Linked DNA regions of Homo sapiens: region 1 is linked to region 2. The links are contacts of gene promoters, found by promoter capture Hi-C in blood cells and fetal thymus (Javierre and others, 2016). All regions are on one chromosome and are shown on one strand. Each heading gives the region's core, a stretch centred on a gene start or on the middle of the fragment in contact. The rest is flanking DNA. Distances are from core to core; before and after follow the strand shown. Region 1 has its middle 43 kb from the start of CRNN. Region 2 holds the start of THEM4 (thioesterase superfamily member 4).

Region 1 (7,444 bases), core at 4,396-6,895, 550 kb after region 2:
TTTTTGGCCATGTATATGTCTTCTTTTGAAAATTGTCTGTTCATGTCCTTTGCCCATTTTTTAATGGGGTTGTTTTTTGCTTGTTAATTTCTTTATAGATTCTGGATATTAGACCTTTGTCAAATGCATAGTTTGCAAATATTTTCTCCTATTATGTTGGTTGTCTATTTACTCTGTTGATAGTTTCTTTTGCTATGCAGAAGCTCTTTAGTTTAATTAGGTTCCACTTACCAATTTTTGTTTTGGTTGCAATTGCTTTTTGTGTCTTTGTCATAAAATCTTTGCCAGGGCCTATGTCCAGAATAGTATTTCCTAGGTTTTCTTCAAGGGTGTTTATAGTTTTAGGTTTTACATTGATGTCTTTAATTCATCTTGAGTTGATTTTTATATATGGTGTAAGGAAGGGGTCTAGTTTCAATCTTCTGTATATGGCTAGCCAGTTATCCCAGCACCATTTATTGAAGATAAATGGTTGAAGATCAGATAGTTGTAGCTGTGTAGCTTTATTTCTGGGCTCTCTATTCTGTTCCTTTGGTCTATGTGTCTATTTTTACCTGTACCATGTTGTTTTGGTTACTGTAGCCTTATAGTACAGTTTGAAGTCAGATAATATGATTCCTCCAGGTTTCTTCTTTCTGCCTAGGATTGTTTTGGCTATTTGGGCTTTTTTTTTTTTTGTTTTACATGAATTTTAGAATTTTTTTTCTAATTCTGACCCTGGTAGTTTGATAGGAATAGCATTGAATCTGTAAATTGCTTTGGGCAGTATGGCCATTTTAACAATATTGATTCTTCCTATCCATGAGCATGAAATGTTTTTCCATTTGTTTGTGTCATGTCTGATTTCTTTCAGCAGTGTTTCCTAACTCTCATTGTAGAGGTCTTGCACCTCTGTTTAGCTGTATTTGTAGGTGTTTTTTTGTTTTGCTTTGTTTTGTGTGTGTGTGGCTATTGTGAATGGGATTTGTGTTCTTGATTTGGCATTCAGCTTGGACATTATTGGTGTATAGAAATGCTACTGATTTTTGTGTACTGATTTTGTATCTAGAAGCTTTGCTGAAGTTGTTTATCAGATCTAGCTTTTGGGCTGTGACTATGGGATTTTCTAGGTATAAAATTATATCACCTGCAGAGATAGTCTGACCTCCTGTCTTCCTATTTGGATGCCTTTTATTTCTTTCTCTTGCCTGCTTGCTCTGGTTAGGACTTCCTCTCTTTATTATGTATTATATTTTCCTTCTTTTCATGCCTGGTAATTTTTTATGGATACCACACATTGTGAATTTTACCATTTGAATGGCTGGATATATTTTTGTTTCTATAAATAAGAAACAAAAGTTAAGTTACTTGGAAACAGTTTGGTCCTTCAAATTTTGCTTTTTAAGATATGATGGGTGGCACCAGAGCAGTGTTTAGTTTAGGACCAATTTTACTACACCACTGAGGCAAAACCTTTCTGAGTACTCTACCCAGTATCCAATAAATTATGATGTTTTCTACTCTAGCTGTTAGGAACAGGGGTTCTTCCTAACTCGGGGTGATCCTGGGATTATTCGCTTTCATTCCTGCAGGGAGGTCCATCCTCTGCCTCAGGTAGTTTCCTCACATACAGGTGCTGATCATAACTCAGCTAAGGATCTGAGGGGAGGCTGTTCCTGATTGTCAGGGCTCCCCTGCCCCCTTCTCTCTCTAGCTCTTGCCTTGCTAGGTGAAGGGGTGGCCTGCCCCTCCACACCTGTGGGTGTTTCTCGTCTGGTGGGACGAGAGACTGAGAAAAGAAAGAGACACAGAGACAAAGCATAGAGAAAGAAAAGTGGGCCCAGGGGACCGGGCGCTCAGTATACGGAGGACCCGCGCCGGCACTGGTCTCTGAGTTCCCTCAGTATTTATTGATCATTATCTCTACCATCTCAGAGAGGGGGATGTGGCAGGACAATAGGGTAATAGTGGGGAGAAGGTCAGCAGGAAAACATGTGACAAATGTCTCTGTGTCATAAACAAGGTTAAGAAAAAGGTGCTGTGCTTTGATGTGCCAATACATAAACATCTTGGTGCATTAAAGAGCAGTATTGCCACCAGCATGTCTCACCTCCAGCCATAAGGTGGTTTTCTCCTGTCTCAGTAGATGGAACATACAATTGGGTTTTACACCGAGACATTCCATTGCCCAGGGATGAGCAGGAGACAGATGCCTTCCTCAGAGTTATCTCAACTGCAAAGAGGCCTTCCTCTTTTACTAATCCTCCTCAGCACAGACCCTTTACGGGTGTTGGGCTGGGGGATGGTTAGGTCTTTCCCCTCCCATGAGGCCATATCCCAGGCTATCACTTGGGGAGAAACCTTGGACAATATGTGGCTTTCCTAGGCAGAGGTCCCTGCGGCCTTCCGCAGTGTATTGTGTCCCTGGGTACTTGAGATTAGAGAGTAGTGATGACTTTTAACAAGCATACTGCCTTCAAGCACTTGTTTAACAAAGCACATCCTGCATAGCCCTAAATCCATTAAACCTTGAGTTAACACATCACAGGTCTCTGCAAGCACAGGGTTGGGGCTAGGGTTACAGATTAACAGCATCTCAAGGCAGAAGAATTTTTCTTAGTACACAACAAAATGGAGTCTCTTATGTCTACTTCTTTCTACATAGACACAGTAACAGTCTGATCTCTCTTTCTTTTCCCCACAGCTAGGCTAGTAGTCTGTCTTGAAAACTCTAGCTGCCTTGGTCTTTTAGGATCCAGTTCCATTTATTCAATCCTGAGAGTCCACTGGACTCTGCCAGTTTCCGCTCCCTGAGTCACAGCCTGGAAACCCTTTGCCGGGAGGAGGCCAGGACAGTCCTAGGGTTCAGCTCATTTTGTTTCATCTTGCAAACATCATGGTCCTGCATTGCTTCAGGTTCATGGTCTTGAAAACTATTGTTCTTTTTATATAGCCATTCCTTGGTATTCACGAGGGATTTGTTCCAAGACCCTTGAAGATGCCAAAATCTGGAGATGCTCAAATCCCTCACGTAAAATGGCAAGATATTTGCATATAACCTATGCACATCCTCCTGTAGACATGAAAACATCTCTAGATTACTTATAATACCTAATATAATGTAAATGCTATGTAAATGGTTGTTATACTGTATTTTTAAATTGTATTTTTATTGTATTTTTTCAAATGTTTTTGATCCATGGTTGGTTGAATCCATGGATGTAGAAGTCAAGTATAAGGAAGGCCAACTATAGCTTGTCAGATTATGTAGTTGTTTCAGGTTACAGGATAAATCCATCCCTGTAACTCCATTCCCATTGGAAGAGGAAATTTCCACTTTATATTTTTGCTAGCATAATACCATTTTTTCTGGTATTTTTCAAAATCACAACCTAACATTGTAATTCTAAAGTATTTAGAGTTATACATCTGTTTAAAATTTCAAATTGGATGAACATGCAATCTCCCCACTAAGACAGGCATTTGCCTTTGTCTGGGTGAGGCTGACCATTGTCTTTTGTGTTTAGCAGTTCCTTATAATCCCTCCATAACCAGCCTGGGTCTCTCTCCACTTCCAGAAGCCTTGACAGACTGTTTTAGAACTGGAGAGATGAGGAGTGGGGGTGAGATGCTAAGAACACACAGGAGAGGGTATGGCAGGAAGGAGGACAAAAGGGCAGGAGTTCCTAGGGCCAAGTCCCACCACTCTTCACCCCCAGCCTGACCACCTCCCTCCCCTCCGGGGCACACATCTCTCTGCTCCTCTTTACAGAGCCTCTTTATTTAACATGTCATGTGGTTCTGGTATCACAGTCACTACTCTTGTTGTGTGGAAGGGCAGAATCTCAGGGGCCCAGGACAGAATAGAAGACTGTTGGTGAGGCAGGACTTAGTCCCTTAGGGAGTTACCAGGCCAGCCCTGCCCCATGCTGTGGCAATCACAGGAGTGTGTGATACAGAGTGCTTGGAGAATAGGACCAGACCACACTTGACAAAATGGTGCCTATGGGGGTGCAACAATAACATGGCATTTTAGGAAGAGGTGGACAGGACAATGAGTTGCTTTGGGGGCTTTGGTCTTGTACACCATGCCTAGGTTCTGAGAGGGCAACTGTACCTTGCAGAATGACTGCCATCTGCCAGGCACAGTGCTAGGCTTTTTACAACCATTACGCCAGTCATTCCTTATGTCAACCTTATGTGGTGTGCATTGTCCTTTTACATTTCACATCTGAAGACAATTAGACTCAAAGGGTTTCAGATAGTTACTCGATGGGACTGGCACTCCAGAGTCTGCGAGGGCAGAGAAGTTTGCTGGGAGACTGAGAGAGTGCTCATGGGATATTGTGGTATGGGAGGAGCTGGAGCCCTATGTTCTTGGCTGGACAAAGCCCTGTTGTGCTCATTTTGGAGATGGCAGGTGGGACCAATCCCATCACAGCAGCTGCCTCAGCAGGGAGATGCCCTGCAAGGGTGAGGTGTGGCCTAGGCAAGGTGTAGGAACTGGAAACTGAGGTAGGGCTGGAGGGGGGGAATATAACAAGAGTGAAAACAGTGCTTGAGGGCAAAAATGTGATGGGGAAAGTAAAAAAAAAGACCTGGAGTCTACACTGAAATTGAGTGGGGGTGAAGAAGTGAAATATTATTTTGGACCATATGAAATTGTTGTTTTGTAGGTAAAATGGTGGATTATGAACAATTTTATGTGTTCAACCTAATGTAAGCTTACTGTGGGTAAGCACCAAATATTAAGTATAGCCCATGGAATGCAGGGTGGTCTAAAGGTGAGTGGCACTGGATCTCAGCATTTGGAATGCCTACCTGTCCCCATATGTATCATCAGAAGGCACCTGTTAAAATATACACGTTACCTAGAAGTAGCAAATATTACCTAGCAACATCCTGGCACAACTGGCTTTATTAAACCAAGTTGTCACTTACTATGACAACAGCTATATAAAGTGACTGAAAAGAAAATTGGAATTTTGATTGAAAGATCATTTTGACTAGGTAGAGCCTGAGATAGGGGAGCTGCTTGGCAGACTGTGAGCAGCACTTGGCACAAGGTGGGGGGGTTTTGATAGAAGGCATTGAGAGAGAGGAAGCCGAGGTCTGGACCCAAAAGACTTGCTGACTGGCTGTGCCCATAAGCTTCCCTGCGCTGACTGCTGTCAGCCAACAATTAGGATTTCCGTGGTGCTCTGGCTCCCTCTTCAGGGAAACTCCTGAAATGCATCGCCATGTCTCAAGAAGATGGAGCTCCAGCGAAGTTTCAGAGATGGAAGACGGAACGGTAAGGGAACTAGTATTTCTCAAATTCACACTGTGTGTAGGCAGTCTGCTGAAAAGTGGCCACTAATATTGCCATGTATAGAAGTGTAAACTCAGATAATTTACGTGATTTGTCCAAGGTCATAACTCAATGGTGGTAGAGCTGGGATTCAACTTCAGGTTAGCCTGACTCCAAAAGACAAAGGTTGACCGTGGGCATCTCCAGGGAAGGGAGCAACTTCTATTGATTTTTGAATCCAGAGCAACTTCCATTGATTTCTGAAGCTCCAGAGTATAGTTGGGTGCAACAAATGTGAATCCCCAAAGACACAGGGCCCCGCTTAAGACCCCACACGTGGTTTTCCTCCCAGAGTCAAAACCCAGCAAGTTTGTGCCCCTCTAACAGCAGTATGAATCTTGGGCCCCAAGGCTGTGTCTGGGGCAGCCCTTCATCTCTAACTTCTGAGTATTCTTGGCAACCACCTGGAACACAGTTTTCCATGGTGCAGTGCTTCCTCCTCCACCTGCCCTTTCACATAAGGGATCGCCTTTGACCTTAACACCTGCTCTCTCTGTTTGACAGATGATATTTGATTTTTGAAGATGGAAGAGCATCTATCCATGCATCCATTCATTCATAAAACTGATAAGTATTTGTTGAGTGTCTACGATGTCCAGTCAGTGTTATTGACTCTAGAGATACAGCAGTAAACAGAATAGATAAAAGCTGGGATATGTGGGTGGGAGTAGTAGGCAGTAAACAATAACCCTAATAAATATGTAAATTATACAACATGTTAGAAGGCGGTAACCACTATAGAAATAGAGCTGAATAAGGAATGAGAGTGCAAGTGGCAAGGATAAAGGGTAAGTTGTAATTTAAATGGACTGGTCAGCTCTGCTTTATTAAGAAGCTTACTTTTGAAAGAAATATAGGGAGGGAGCCAAGCAGATATCTTGGGTAAGAAGATTCCAGGTAGAGGGAAAAGCCAATGCAAATGTCCTAAGGTGAAATCATTCCTGATCTACACAAGATACAGCAAAGAGGCCAGTGTGGCTGGAAGGGAGTGAGAGAGGAGAGTAATGGGGTTGAGCTACCTCTACTGACTGAGTATATATTATATGCTGGGCACCACTAGGCACTTAAACATGCTGATCATGTCAACTCCTCTGGGAGTGTGTTATGGACCAATTTAGAAGTTGAGAAATAGTGGTTTGGTGAGAGTGGGTAACTCACACATGGCCACAGAGCCAGCAAAGCAGATGTTCTGGCTCCAGAGCCCCGTTCTCTCCTCTGCACCCCATTGCCTTCATTCGGCCGAGTGGCCCTGCCTGCAGCAGCTGCCATGCTCTGAGCTGGCCTCCTGGTGTCAGTGAGCCCCAGCTCAGTGGCCGAGGAGGGCCCCAGGAGTCACAGGCTCTCACTGATCCCCACCACACCGAGGCTGCTTCCTTGTACCCCTGGTTTTAGGTCCAGCGTCCTCACCACTCTGAAATCAATTACTATTTTTACTTCTCTTTTTTTTTTTGGCATTAAGTAGACTTTTGGTTTTTAAATTATCTGAAAGTAAAAGCACAGAAGTGACATTCTTCTTGAAAGTGAAAGCAAGTGTGGAACATTTTTAACCATGCTGTTTCCTATCTGTTCTAGTTTCTGTAGGTAGTGGGTTCAGAGTAGCTCAGAGTATAAGGTGTGGGATGTGTGTGGGGGTGAGGGTTGGCCCAGGTGGACATCAGCATTTGACTCCTTCCTGGTTGCTGTAATTTGGGAGGGACTAACCAGGCTGCTAGATGTGCAGAAGGGTGGGCGCCACCTGCTGGTTGTGTGCATAAACCGCCTTTTCACCCAGTCAATCTTCATTCTTCTTTACTTGGAAATGGCAAATGAAGCCTTTCTATACGTGACTCTAGCAAATTAATTATTTCAGTCTTCCCGAAACACTTTATGTATATAATACCTCATGGTAGCATCATGCAAATGTCCCTTTGCCTTTGCTTGTGCTGGTATACCTTACGAAAAACAATCTGTACATCCAAGATGTCCCCCAACATCACCTACTTCAAAAATCACCTACTTCCAAGATCCATCCCTTACACTCTCCAAACTCCCCAGTCCTCAGAGACCCTAAGACACCTTGAACTACATCTAATCACCATGTGGCTAATGTGTTTGTCTTCTCCCAGAGGGGGACAG
Region 2 (6,671 bases), core at 1,004-3,503:
CACATCCGAACATCAGAAGGAACAAACGCCGGACATGCCGCCTTTAAGAACTATAACACTCACCACGAGGGTCCGTGGCTTCTTTCTTGAAGTCAGTGAGACCAAGAACCCATCAATTCCGACACAGTATGTAATCCTGAATTATGCACCTGTCACAATTTGATGAATTAATTGCCTTTGTGCTGCCTCTGTATCCTTGCTTTCACGCCACTATGCTTCACGCCACTGTAAGCTTGTTTCAAGCTAGCCCACCCCCTTTTAAAAGTGTGTATTAAAGTCAAGTGCTGTCTTTGTTCTGGGCCCAGCTTTTGGATGTTAGTCCGCTGGGTCTGAGTGCACTCAATAAAGTTCTCCTGTCTCACCCCATGGCCTCTCCAGTCCTCCTTCATTCCTGCAACAGAAGGATGAGTGAAATGGGGACTCAAAACCTCTCACTTTCATTTCTGAGCCTTTTGGTCTTATGGCATTCCTCTTCTTTTTGGGGGGACAGCAACGGCACCTATTTTTCTTTTTACGATACTGGAGGTGGTCCACACCCACCCCAATGGTCACCAGTGCACTCACAAGACAGTTGGGTGGGGTAGCTCCCTGGCCCCACTTCTTTACTGGCTGGGGTGCATGGTGGTGTCTGCAGCATGTGTGTGTGGTGTCCAGTAGCCACACAGGGCATAAATGAGCCACAGCCACTGCCCAGGCTCCAAGGCGCCGGCATGGCTGGCTGGCGTTCCCTACCAGGTGCCTGCAGTCTCCCCCTCCCCATTCCAGGGAGTCTAGCTCTGTCCCACAGCAATTAAGCTCCTCTCTCTGGTGGAGGAACCATTTGCATAGGAATAAGAGGTTCTTCCCCCAGGCATCCTTATCTCCTCTCCAACCCATCAGCAGTATACTTTTAAAGGAGGTTTTTCTTTTCCTTTTGGAAGACGTTTTGCTCTTTTGGGAATGATGAGGATTACCGTTTATATTTTCTGTAAAGTTTTGTGCGAAAGGATTTGTGAGGTAAGTCGTAAGCTGTAGCCAATCTGTGTGTTTTGCATGTCTTTCTGTATGCTCCACAGCAAACTTCGCTGCAGGCCTCCATCTTGTTTTACGTCCTTGGGGGCGTGGCCTGTAACCCCATTGCATAGCTTCGTTTAGCCCGGCATGGCCCAGATTCATCCTGGCTTAGGGAATGAGTCCTTTCTGGTTTGGTATCTGTATGCCCTTTCGCTATTTGTCGATTCCCCTGCCCTCCACCAACCACCTTGGATTTTCCTTTCTCTGAGCCTTTAAGTAAAGTTTGAAAGCCAGAAATATTGGCCGCTTGGTGGAGCTAAAGTTAGATAATAAGGGTGTTAAAAGAATTTTCTTAAGGAGTGCTCAGCTTAATTAAAAGTAGATATCTAAGTTGTAATTATATTTATAAGGCCTTTATGTTTTCCTTTTCTTGGACCTTATTTTGCTGGAAAAAGTGTTTCTTTGCGGTCGACTGAGTTATTTTTCTCCATTTTGCCTTGCCACTTTTAATGCCTGCATAAGAGGGGCGATCTCTGTTTTCCTCATGGAACCCCAGGAATTAAAAGCAGATAGATCCCTCTCCCTGTGATGAAAGATCTTATGGCAACTGGGTTTTCTTCTGCCTGTCTGTGTAGTTATATATGTGTTGTGTGTGATGTCTATAAAAAGATCTCTAATTAATTGACCTAAAGGAAGATAAGCGTTTGGATCAAATATTTTTTTAAAGGGAAGATAAAAGCTGTGGTATCTTTTAGTTCACGTCACTTTAATCTTTGAAAAATAAAAACAGCCTCAAATATTATTGGTAAAATACAGATGTTGTCAAAATATAAATAGACAGACTAAATTATGCAGTTCAGGTAGCGCCCTGCCGACCCTGTCTCTTAAAAAACAAAAAAACGGGGTCACCTTTCCATCCCTTTTCTAACGGTTTGAATCTCAGGACTGTATTCCTAGGCCCCTGTTGCTTATGCTGCCCTGTGGTGCCCAGGTGAGCTTTTATTCTGAGATTGGCTGGTTGGGGTATGGATAACAATCGAAGGCTCTGTTACCGCAGGCGTGTTTCTGAGTCCTGCTCCCGCCCCATGCCCGAGGGTGCCCAGACTCACCAGCTCGGGTCGCGGCTCGCTTCCCGGCAGGCGCCGGCCTACTGGCGGCAGGCACAGAGCCCCCAGCGTGCGGAGGCGCGCGGCGCAGCTCCTCAGCATGGCTCCGGGCCGCGGGGCCGCGCTTGCTCTAGCCCTGGACGGCGCACTCTACCTCCGCCACAAGAGCGCGCGTGCGAGTTAACCCCTGGGGTGGACGCAGGGCGGGGCTTGGGGAGGAGGCGGTGCGCACTACTGGCGGCTGGCTGGCCGGGGTGTGAGGCCGGCGGGGTCCGGGTAGGGCATCGCTGTTGAGTCTATCTTCTGGTTCCGGCCTTTTCTTTCCGAAGACCTCCCGCTGCGGCCAACAGCCGGGCCACTTCCGGGGCTTCTCAAAGGCAAGAGGAGCGCGGCCGGAGCGGATCCCGGTTATCGCCTTGGGCCCCTCAGCCCCTCAGCCCCGGAACCCGCGCGCCGACTGGAGGCTTTGCGGTCATCCTTCCCACATGACCCAGGGCGTACGCAGTGCTCCGTGTCCCCAAGTAGTTATCCCTCCCCCGGAAGACTGAAGTCCCTGGGGCGGGTAGGAGCGCACGCTAGGAGTAGTATGAATAAAGTGTTTTCTTGGAGGTCATGGGCAAGTCTCTGGACAGGGTTGATAGTGCTGATTTATAGAGGGCAGTCTGGGCACAAAGAGCATTTATACGATCGAAAAGCTGCTTTCCCTGCCAACAGCCCCATACCCTCCCCAGGAGCGCGCTTACGCCTTAAAAGACTCTTTTGTTATGTAAACTGACAGTTAAATTAAACGAAGGTAATGGATACTAAAGGCGTAACAGGTATTGTAACTATTTTACTGTTATCGATGCTTTTGAGGTTACTTACCTCGCTTGTATTCGTATGGTGGGAATACTAGGCGCATACCTTCTGAGCTTCGAATTCAGTAACCTCACTGGGACCTTGAAATCGGACTGGGTTGGAGTATTCCCATTACTCAGATAATGCAAATCCGGGCCATCATACCCCTTTATTTTTAAATGCTTACCAGTATGCCATAGCCCTAGTCCATCCTAAGGTGAAGACTCTAATGGGTTTTTTTTGAGACAGAGTCTCGCAGAGATACTGCTATTGCACTTCAGCCTGGGCAACATACTGATGCCCCATCTCAAAAAAGCAATAAATTAAAAAGAAAACTCGAATGACCTGAATGCATTAGATATTTTGCCTTGATTCCTTTCCCATGAACAACTCCAGCAGTTTGTCAGTAGGTAAGAACACCTAGATACATTTTAAGCCTACACTATTAACTGGGGGAAGGTGTAACATTCTGAGAGAAAGGGAATTGGGGAGAGAAGGCAATGCAGTTAGGAGGGGCCCCTTGGAATCCTAGAGCTACTGAACCGAAGATCAGGCATAAAGGATGGTTGTTGAGATTCTGTAATTCTAAGAGGTTGTATTCTGATATCTCCTAAGCACCCCCCCCAACCTCCCACATTCCCTTTATCTCAGTTGTCTTCCTTTTTAATATATTAATAGTATTGCAGTTTCCTGGTGGCAGGGATGGGGTCAGATTGCCTTATTAATTGTAACAACGTGCACGTAGTGCTTGAATACTTACTTAGCAGCAAGAATCCAAAGTATCTTTGGTGTCTGTTGTCTTCCCATGTTGTGCGTGCAGATGGAGGCACGAGCATAACGTAAATCTCTAAAATTGAGATGACTACTGTTAATGAATAGAAAAGTTTATTCAGGTAACTTAAAATTGCATCTATTTACAATTTACAGTGTAGTCAAATCAATCAATACCTATAGACTTCAACCCTGCTAAGATTGTCTATATGATTAATGTACCAATAGCTCACCTAACAGCTTCCTTTTGTTTTTTTGAGATGGAGTCTCACTCTGTTGCCCAGGCTGGAAGTGCAGTGGCATGATCTTGGCTCACTGCAACCTCTGCCTCCAGGGTTCAAGCGATTCTCCCTGCCTCAACCTCCCGAGTAGGTGGGATTACAGGCGCGTGCCACCACATCTGGCTAATTTTTATATTTTTGGTAGAGACGGGGTTTCACCCTGTTGGCCAGGCTGGTCTTGAACTCCTGACCTCAAGTGATCTGCCTGCCTCCCAAAGTGCTGGGATTACCAGCATGAGCCACTGCACTCGGCACCTATCAGCTTCTTAAAAGACCTTAGACTTAGGGCAATTAGAGGTCAGTTACACTGAGTTTAAACTTCATTAAATTTTAACTCTAAATTTTTCAAGTAGCGGCAGTGCATTTAGTTAAGTCATCCACACTCTTGCATGGCTTACTCTGGGATATTCGTGTTGACAGCACATATAAAATGTCTGGTCAGATTTGGAAGAGGAAGGGCAGGTTACAGTCTAGAAATAGGATTGATAGGCTATGGAAGTGAAGGAGTTTGAAGCTTGTATGGTTTAGGCAAGGAACAAATGTTCAATCTTGATAGAACTAGGCTTCGAATAAGCCAATGGTATGAAACTTAATAGTCTTCTCACCATTCTTTAATTTTGTAGACAGCTTTATTGAGGTGTAGTTGCCATAGGATGGGCACCGTGGCTCATACCTGTAATTCCAGCACTTTGGGAGGCTGAGGTGGGTGGATCACCTGAGGTCAGGAGTTTGAGACCAGCCAGGCCAACATGGTGAAACCCCGTCTCTGCTAAAAATACAAAAATTAAGGCCGGGCGCAGTGGCTCACTCCTATAATCCCAGCACTTTGTGAGGCTGCAGCGGGCAGATCACGAGGTCAGAAGATTGAGACCGTCCTGGCTAACACGGTGAAACCCTGTCTCTACTAAAAATACCAAAAATTAACCGGGCGTGGTGGCGGGCGCCTGTAGTCCCAGCTACTCGGGAGTCTGAGGCAGGAGAATGGCGTGAACGTGGGAGGCGGAGCTTGCAGTGAGCCAAGATCGCGCCACTGCACTCCAGCCTGGGCGACAGAGTAAGACTGAGTCTCAAAAAAAAAAAAAAAAAAAAAGTTAGCCAGGTGTGGTGGCGCATGCCTGTAATCCCAGCTACTTGAGAGGCTGAGGCAGGAGAATCGCTTGAACCTGTCAGGTGGAGGTTGCAGAGAGCCGAGATCGCGCCATTGTACTCCAGCCTGGGCAACAAGAACGAAACTCCATCTCAAAAAAAAAAAAAAAAAAAAAGCCAGAGGCAGTGGCTCATGCCTGTAATCCCAACACTTTAGGAGGCTGTGGCAGGCGGATCACAAGGTCAGGAGTTCGAGACCAGCCTGACCAACATGATGAAACCCCGTCTTTACTAAAAATACAAAAATTAGCTGGGCATGGTGGCGTGCACCTGTAATCCCGGCTACTCGGGAGGCTGAGGCAGGAGAATTGCTTGAACCCGGGAGGCGGAAGTTGCAGTGAGCCAGGATTGCACCACTGCACTCCAGCCTGGGTGACAGAATGAGACTCCGTCTCAAAAAAAAAAAAAAAAAAAAAAAAGAGATAGTTGACATAAACTGAACATATTTAAAGTATACAATTGGATGTTTTCATACAAGTTTACACTCATGCAAACATCACCATAATCAAGATAATGAGCCACAAAATATTACCCACAAATTTGCTCATGCCCTTTTGTAAATCCTCCCTTCTATCGTACAGTACTTTCTGTCACTGTAGATTAATTTCCATTTTCTAGAGTTTTATATAAATGGAATTATATAGTATGTACTTTTTGTGGTCTGGATTTTTTTAATTCACTATAACTATTTTGAGATTCATCCATGTTTTGCTTATGTCGAGAATTTATTTTTTAAAATTGCTGAGTAGTATTCCATTGTATGGATGTACCACAATTTTTCTATTCACCCATGGATGACCATTTGGCTTATTTCCAGTTTTTGTGAATTACAAATATAGCTGCTGTGAGTACAAGTCTTTGTATGGATGTATGCCTTCATTTCTCTTGGGTAAATATCTAAGAGTGGAATGGTTGGATCATGTGGTAGATGTATGTTTAACTGTTTAAGAAACTGCCAAACTTTTCCAAAGTTGTTGTATCATTTTACCAGCAGTGCATAAGGATTTCAGTTCCTCCATATCCTTGCCAGCCTTCGGTATGGTCAATCTTTTATGTTTTAGCCATTGTAACTAGATGTGTGTAAGTATTTTATTGTGGTTTTAATTGGCATTTTCCTAATGATGAATAATGTAGGACATCTATGGGCTTATTTTTCATCTGTGTATCTTCTTCATTGAAACGTCTATTCAAATATTTTGCCCATTTAAAATAATGAGATATTTGTATTCTTATTATTGCACTTATTAATGCACCTCTGATAACATTTCACATCTAAATTTTAAGTTAAATTTCAAACCTTCCATTTATAAGAAAACTGAATGTCAGCGTGATGCTAGCTGCTTTAATATTTCTTGCTGAATTTTTCTTGGATTTGTTGTCATAGGTCTCACTCTTGGAAAGGATGTATTCTTGAATTGTTATCCATGGGGCAAGGCACCAAAATGAGTCTCCGGCTGGGTGAAGGGTCCATCTTCCCTTTCAGTAGTGGAAGAAGGGTGACTGTGAAAGAGGAGGTTGAAAAGAGGAATTGCAGGCT

What was found. The method cuts DNA at HindIII sites, captures the fragments that hold promoters and counts their contacts. A CHiCAGO score of 5 or more calls a contact.
Region 1: a fragment that was not itself captured here is called in contact with the fragment with the promoter of THEM4 in region 2 in 3 of 17 cell types (naive CD8 T cells, total B cells and activated CD4 T cells); the score reaches 6.4 in naive CD8 T cells.

The regions. Positions count from the first base shown.
Region 1 is chr1:152,453,400-152,460,843 of GRCh38, forward strand. No RefSeq gene overlaps it. Among named protein-coding and RNA genes, the nearest start is that of CRNN, 43 kb to the left of the region's middle. RefSeq lists enhancers at 5,119-5,188, 7,107-7,166. The HindIII fragment of the contact is 1,034 bases long and covers 5,129-6,162 here.
Region 2 is chr1:151,907,258-151,913,928 of GRCh38, forward strand. It overlaps THEM4 (thioesterase superfamily member 4), which reads right to left and starts at 2,254. Exons shown (of 6, transcript NM_053055.5): 1 at 2,103-2,254. The coding sequence starts at 2,201. RefSeq lists a silencer at 1,981-2,290 and enhancers at 2,531-2,650, 2,639-3,226. The HindIII fragment of the contact is 4,270 bases long and covers 231-4,500 here.